Linked DNA regions of Homo sapiens: region 2 is linked to region 1. The links are contacts of gene promoters, found by promoter capture Hi-C in blood cells and fetal thymus (Javierre and others, 2016). All regions are on one chromosome and are shown on one strand. The core of a region is centred on a gene start or on the middle of the fragment in contact, and the rest is flanking DNA. Distances in the headings are between cores, read along the strand shown.

What was found. Contacts are between HindIII fragments. The CHiCAGO score rates a contact against its expected background, and 5 or more counts as called.
Region 2: a fragment that was not itself captured here is called in contact with the fragment with the promoter of APOA4 in region 1 in 1 of 17 cell types (neutrophils); the score reaches 6.2 in neutrophils.

Annotation. Positions count from the first base shown.
Region 1 is chr11:116,822,054-116,825,546 of GRCh38, forward strand. It overlaps APOA4 (apolipoprotein A4), which reads right to left and starts at 1,251. Exons shown (of 3, transcript NM_000482.4): 1 at 1,090-1,251; 2 at 606-732. The coding sequence starts at 1,138. RefSeq lists enhancers at 3,239-3,493, 3,460-3,493. The HindIII fragment of the contact is 18,172 bases long and covers 1-3,493 here.
Region 2 is chr11:117,355,719-117,358,870 of GRCh38, forward strand. All of the region lies in intron 5 of CEP164 (centrosomal protein 164), which reads left to right. Among named protein-coding and RNA genes, the nearest start is that of CEP164, 29 kb to the left of the region's middle. The HindIII fragment of the contact is 2,770 bases long and covers 22-2,791 here.

The DNA.
Region 1 (3,493 bases), core at 1-2,500:
CTAAGTTACGATGCTGAATTTCTATCTCAGGATCTCCCACATAGTTTGTCTCAGAATCTACCCACCATGTCACCTCCAGCAGTTTGCTTTCCCCTCCTTGTCTGCAGAGGGTGGGACTTTGAGGTCCTTCCCAGAGGGAGTGTTCTGGGCCATAGGATCACATTGTGTAACACAATGTTGTCTTCTTGACCTCTGCTGGGGTCTTCCAGTGGCACAAGGTGCTGCTTTCCTTGCCTGTGCCCAGGGGCCTCCCAAATATTCCCACCTCCCTCCCCTTGATTCCACTGGGGCCTGTCTTTCTGAAACGTATTAGAAATCAGCTCACGTGACATTTTCCTCCCTCCCTCTCTTCCATGAGCCTGAATGATAGGATGTGGCCATTTGTCAAACTCTAGAACGTCAAAGCAAAAGGACATGGCAGGGATTATTCGGTCCAAACTTCCGGTTTACATATGTGGATCCTAGGTTCAGAGGCCCGGCCAGTTAGTGGCAGGGCAGTGGGTATCCTAAGCTCAGGGCTCCTGTCTCTAAGCTCAACCCTTGCCAGTACATTGCATGGCCTTTAAGAATTCCCCGTCACCACCGCACACTGTAGTCCCTCTTACTTGAGTTGCTGGGTGAGTTCAGATTTCTGGAGATGTTCCACGGCCTCCTTGGCATTGTTGCTCAGCTGGCTGAAGTAGTCCCACATCACCGTGGCCACCTGGTCAGCACTGACCTCAGCCCTGGCTCCTGGGTGGTAACAGAGAGCAATTCATGAGGCCCCGTCTCCTGTGTGGCCCCTCTGCTCCAGCTCTGAGCTGCAGACTGGATGATGGTGGGGGTGCCTCAACCTGCCATTTTCCCTGTCTGAGCTTAGCTTTTTGGAAGCCACAGGGATATGTGAAACTGGTATAGCACCAATGCCAATGGGCCCACCACTGGGACTGGGCCAGCTCTCCTGTGAGCCACTTGGCAGCCAGGCAGACCTCATGTCCAGCTGGGGGCTGATGGGCACTCAGAAGTGTCCTTTTGCTTTGGCTCAGCCTCCATCCTGCACTACTCAGAGCAGCAGCCCAGGAGTGCCATCCAAAGACAGCTTCTACTCACCGGCGACAGCCACCAGGGCCAGGGTCAGGACCACGGCCTTCAGGAACATCCTGAGCTGCTTGCTGGGCTGGAGGAGTTTCTTGCCACACTGGATCCTCCCTACAATCAGGGGAGCTGACAGAGAGGTCCTCAGGAGAGCTCACCTGCGCTGCAGTGGGAACTGACTGAAGCTCAGAGCCAGCCAGACATTTAAACTCTCTCCCTATCGCCACCCCCCTGGCTGCCCTCCCCTCCTCCTTCCTCAGTGTGACTCCACGCTGGAAGGTGACACATTCCCAAGAGGCCTCTTGGACTTTTGTGACCCTGAGACTACGTGGAAGCTGACAGCAGATCAGGGCTCAGGCGATAGTTAGAAGTGGTGGCTGTTCCGTGCGTGGGCACCCCCACCCCCACCCCACCAACCTCAGCATGGAAGGGAGGAGGGGAACGGAAAACAGTAGGAGAAACACCTCAGGGAGCCCATGAGCCCGGGACTGATGCCTCGAGGCCCTGCTGGCGGCTCTGGGTTTGTGCCGGGCTCATGGGGGGCAAAGTCCACATCTCCTCTGTCTACCCCAGTGAAGACAGGTCCCCCCAGTCTCCACATCCGCCACTAATGCTGACTCCATCTCAGAGCACCAGACACTGGAGTGGGACCATCCAGGACTGCAGACAGCATAGTGAGCTAAAATCTAGGTCTCTTGTCAAGGTACACCCAAGAGGAGGGGGCCCTGGAGAGCCTTTGGGCAGATGGGTGTGGGAGACAGGGCCTTGTCCTGAAAGGGTTAATTGTAGAGTGCTTCATGTCCCACTCCCATGCTGTGCCTCCTTGGTCTAGTTATTCAAAGCCCTGAGCTTCAGTTTCTCCTCTGAACAATGGGATGGTTCAGTACATTAAAGAAGACATTGCTTGCGAAGTGGGTAGTACGGTCATCTCTCAGTCTCCATGGGAAATTGATTCCAGGACCCTCTGCAGATACCAAAATCCATGGATGTTCAAGTCCTTGATATAAAATGGCATAGTATTTGCATATAACCTAAGCACAGCCTCCCACATACTTTAAATCTCTAGATTACTTATAATACCTAATACGACGGAAATGCTGTGTGAATGGTTGTTATACTGTATTGTTTAGGAGGTAATCACCAAAAAAGTCTGTATATGTTTAGTACAGGTGCAATTTTTTTTTTTTTTGAGATGGAGTCTTACTCTGTCACCCAGGCTGGAGTGCAGTGGCACGATCTTAGCTCACTGCAATCTCTGCCCCCCAGGTTCAAGTGATTCTCCTGCCTCAGCCTCCTGAGTAGCTGGGATTACAGGCACCCACCACCACGCCCAGCTAATTTGTGTATTTACAGCAGAGACGGGGTTTCACCATGTTGCTCAGGCTGGTCTCCAACTCCTGGCCTCAAGCAATCCTCCCATGTGGGCCTCCCAAAGTGCTGGGCTTATAGGCGTGAGCCACTGCGCCCTGCCCAGATGCAATTTTTTTAAAACATTGTTTTTAATGGAGATGGGGTGTCGCTATGTTGCTCAGGCTGGTCTCCAACTCCTGGCCTTAAGTGATCCTCCAATCTCTGCCTCCTAAAATGCTGGGCTTACAGGCATGAGCCACTGCACCCGGCCCACAGATGCAATTTAAAAAAAAAAATATATATATATATATATATATATTTTTTTTTTTTTTTTTTTTTTTGAGATGGAGTCTTGCTCTGTCACCCAGGCTGGAGTGCAGTGGCACGATCTCGGCTCACTGCAAGCTCTGCCTCCCGGGTTCACGCCATTCTCCTGCCTCAGCCTCCCAAGTAGCTGGGACCATAGGCGCCCGCCACCACGCCCGGCTAATTTTTTTTTTTTTTTTTGTATTTTTAGTAGAGATGGGGTTTCGCCGTGTTAGCCAGGATGGTCTCGATCTCCTGACCTCGTGATCCGCCCGCCTCAACCTCCCAAAGTGCTGAGATTACAGGCGTGAGCCACCACGCCCGGCCTAAAAAATTATTTTCAATCCAAGGTTGGTTGAATCCATGGACACAGAAACCAAGGATACAGAGGGCTGCCTATAGAGCTCCTGGCACAGAGTAAGCTCTGAAAAATAGTTGCTGTTATTATAATAATCATACTGTATAATAATCATACTGTGTTCCTGATTTGGAGCAAAGCAGGGAGGGTAGCAGAGTGCTCCCTCCTCTAGTGAGAGTGGCAGAGTGAGACTCAGCCCTCTGAGGGGCGCCAGGTGGGCCAGAGGCAGGGTGATGGGTGGGACCAGCCTGAGGCCTGACTCCTGCCCTTCTTGCCCCCCAGCCACACTCCCTGGGCAGGAGCAGCTGGCTTGAGCAGAATCTTGGGACCTGAGGCTCTCAGGGGACCTCCCATTGGGGGATGGAGGGCAATGGTGGTGGTGCCCAGGAGGTCTTCTACTTAGAT
Region 2 (3,152 bases), core at 157-2,656, 530 kb after region 1:
TGTGGATGGAACAGGTCTCCAAGCTTGTCAATAAGGATATCCCAGGAAGCTGCAAGGAAACAGAGCCCAGTGACCCTGAGGCTCTAGGGGCCTCAGCTGAAGATCTACCTCAGGGTCTCTTGCTAATACCACCTGAAACCCTGGCATCAGAACCAGCTCAGAATCCCCTTTTAGGGAGGGCTCCCGAGGAGCCTCCTGCCAGTGAGAAGAGACAGGCCCTAGGGTCTGCAGAGCTCCCTTATAAAGATCAGAAGCCTAGCTTGTCTGGGCCTGACTTGGAGAGCAGCAGCAGCAGCAGCAGCAACAGCAACCTGGCCTCACACCTGGGCTCTCCTGTCCTGGATGAGGTGAACAACTTCCCTTGGAACCTGCAGAGCTCACGGGGATCTGAGGAGGGTATGGCTCAGTCAGACTCGGGTCTCAGAGATCAACACTTCAGCCCCTTCTTAGATCCTCACATGTCCCACATGCAGAGCCCTGACGAGGAGCAGTCAGAAAGTGAAGACTACTCTGAGGACCAGAGGTTCTACCAGCACATCCTGCAGATGGTCAAGATCTCCAGGTGGCCGGAGGGCCTGGGGCTGCCTGAGAGCATGCAGGACATGCCGTGCAGACACAGCGCCAGCACAGTCTGTTGCATGGCAGCTGAGTCTTCTAGGATGTCTAGTGAGGGTGAGCACGAGGCCATCAGAGTCATGGAGAGGGACTCGAGGTTTCTGTCATGGGAGCCAGAGCTGCTGGAACATCCTCAGGAGGTGGCCCTCGCCCCTGCTTGGCAAGAGGCCTCTCAGCAAGCCCATTTCCAGCCAAGCAGCAGCACCCTCAGGCAGGGGCTAGTCCAGCAGAGCTCCAGCAGAGGGCTTACTACAGAGCCAGGCAAGATGCAGCATCTCAACCAGGTAGGCTTCTTAGTGAGCATGGCCTAAAGGCCTAAACTTGGCAGGGAGGGAGCAGGTGGAGTTGATGTCTTACCACAGCCATCAGGCCTGCATTCCTGTTACCCACCCTACCGTGGTAACTATTGGCCCTTTAACTACCCAAATGGCCATTTTATGGAATGACACATACTTGAAGTTTCTTCTACTCCATCACCTGCAAGATAGGGCTGAGGGTATCTCTGATTTCCCTTCCCTGGCTGTAATTGTAATTCATGGGTGGTTCATGTGCTTTGAACATGATCAGTTTTGCGGGTGAGCAGAACGTCGCTAATCCTGGCATTCGTGCAGGATATAAACACCTTCCTGGGATTTGGGAAGTTTTTCCTATCAGCTGATTCTAGAGAGAGGTCCTTCCTATTTGGAAATAGGCAGCCTACCCCAAAGCTCTGAACTTTATTTCTTCTCGAAATCAGACAGAACTAGAAAGTTAATATTATTTTTTATTTTTATTTTATTTTTTAGACAGGGTTTTGTTCTGTTGCCCAGGCTGGAGTGCAGTGGATCTTGGCTCACTGCAATCTGCACCTCCATCGCTTGAATCCCAGGTTCAAGTGATTTTCGTGCCTCAGCCCCTCAAATAGCTGGGATTACAGGTGCTCACCACCACTCCCAGCCAATTTTTTTGTGTTTTTAGTAGAAATGGAGTTTTGCCATGTTGGCCAGGCTGGTCTCGAACTCCTGGTCTCAAGTGATCCACCTGCCTTGGCCTCCCCAAGTGCTGGGATTATAGACATGAGCCACTGCACCTGATTAGAGAGTTAATATTCTTTTTTTTTTTTTTTTTTTTGACAGTCTTGCTCTGTTGCCCAGGCTGGAGTGCAATGGTGCCATCTCAGGTCATTGCAACCTCCACCTCCTGGGTTCAAGCTATTCTTGTGCCTCAGCCTCCTGAGTAGCTGGGACTACAGGCGTGTGCTAACACACCTGGCTAATTTTTGTATTTTTAGCAGAGACGGAGTTTTGTCATGTTGGCCAGGCTGGTATCAAACTCCTGACCTCAAGTGATCTGCCTGCTTCAGTCTCCCAAAGTCCTGGGATTACAGGTGTGAACTGCCGTGCCTGGGCTGAGAGCTAATATTCTTATGAGAGACGGAGGCCAGAACCTTTCTCTGCCATCCAGTGAGCTGCTTCTGCTCTTTGCCTCCTAGGGTCCCCAGAAAACCACATGGATAACCTGTGTCAGGCTTGTGTAGACCATATTTGTGACGTCACTCTTGAGTTCACTTCCTCCTCTACTGGGATTTATCAAATGGCTGACCTTGCCCTATCATTCTACCTTTGTCCCTTTAAAGAGTCACTATATTCTTCATTCAGAAGTCAAGTTGGATCAGAGACCATGGGGATCAATCTGAATTTCTCCAGCTATTCTTTTGTTGTTGCCCAGCTGTGGCTTTATCCAGTTGTTCCCTCTGCTTCCTAATTGCTGGCTTGCACTGGTTCTCTGTTAGCTTTAATAACTACTGTAGCACTATAAATATCGGATAAGCTGCAGATTATCCTGAAAGTTTTAATTAGCCCAGTGGCAGTAAGTCTATCTGCTCTGAAGGACAACTCCACGCATAGCCCCATACTCAGAGTTAATGGCCATCTATAGAAGATGATCAGCTAGGAGCCAGGAATGTATAATTTCTCCACTAATCGCTGATTTGGTCAAGGCCTGGGAGAACAAAGCCCTCAGCATGCTTGTCTCCCTCCCTCAAGCCCCCAGCATGTTAGCAAATTAGCCAGCCATGTTAGGAGTCTGTATTTCCATAAATACAGTGTGGGGATAATTTTGCTTGCTGATACATAGGCTGGTTTGAAGGGCTGAAACCAGGAGGGGCATGCCTGGTTTGCCTAGTTAACCTTGAAGAAGCTTTCTTGGGCTCTTCCCCTCCCCCGGCCTTTTTTTTTTTTTTTTTTAAGAGACCAGAGTTTTGCTCTGTTGTCCATGCTGGAGTTCAATGGTGTGATCGTAGCTCATTGCAGCCTTGAGCTCCTGGGCTTAAGCAATCCTCCCGAGTAGCTGGGACTACAGATGTGTACCACTATACCCAGCTAATTAAAAATTATTTTTTTGTAGACATGGGGTCTTACTGTGTTGCCCAGACTGGTCTTGTACCCCTGGCCTAAAAGTGATCCTCCTGCCTTGGCTTCCGAAAGTACTGGGGTTATAGGTGTCAGGGACCATGTATGTCCTAGGCTCTTCTTTCTGCCACAGCCAGAGCTGGTATA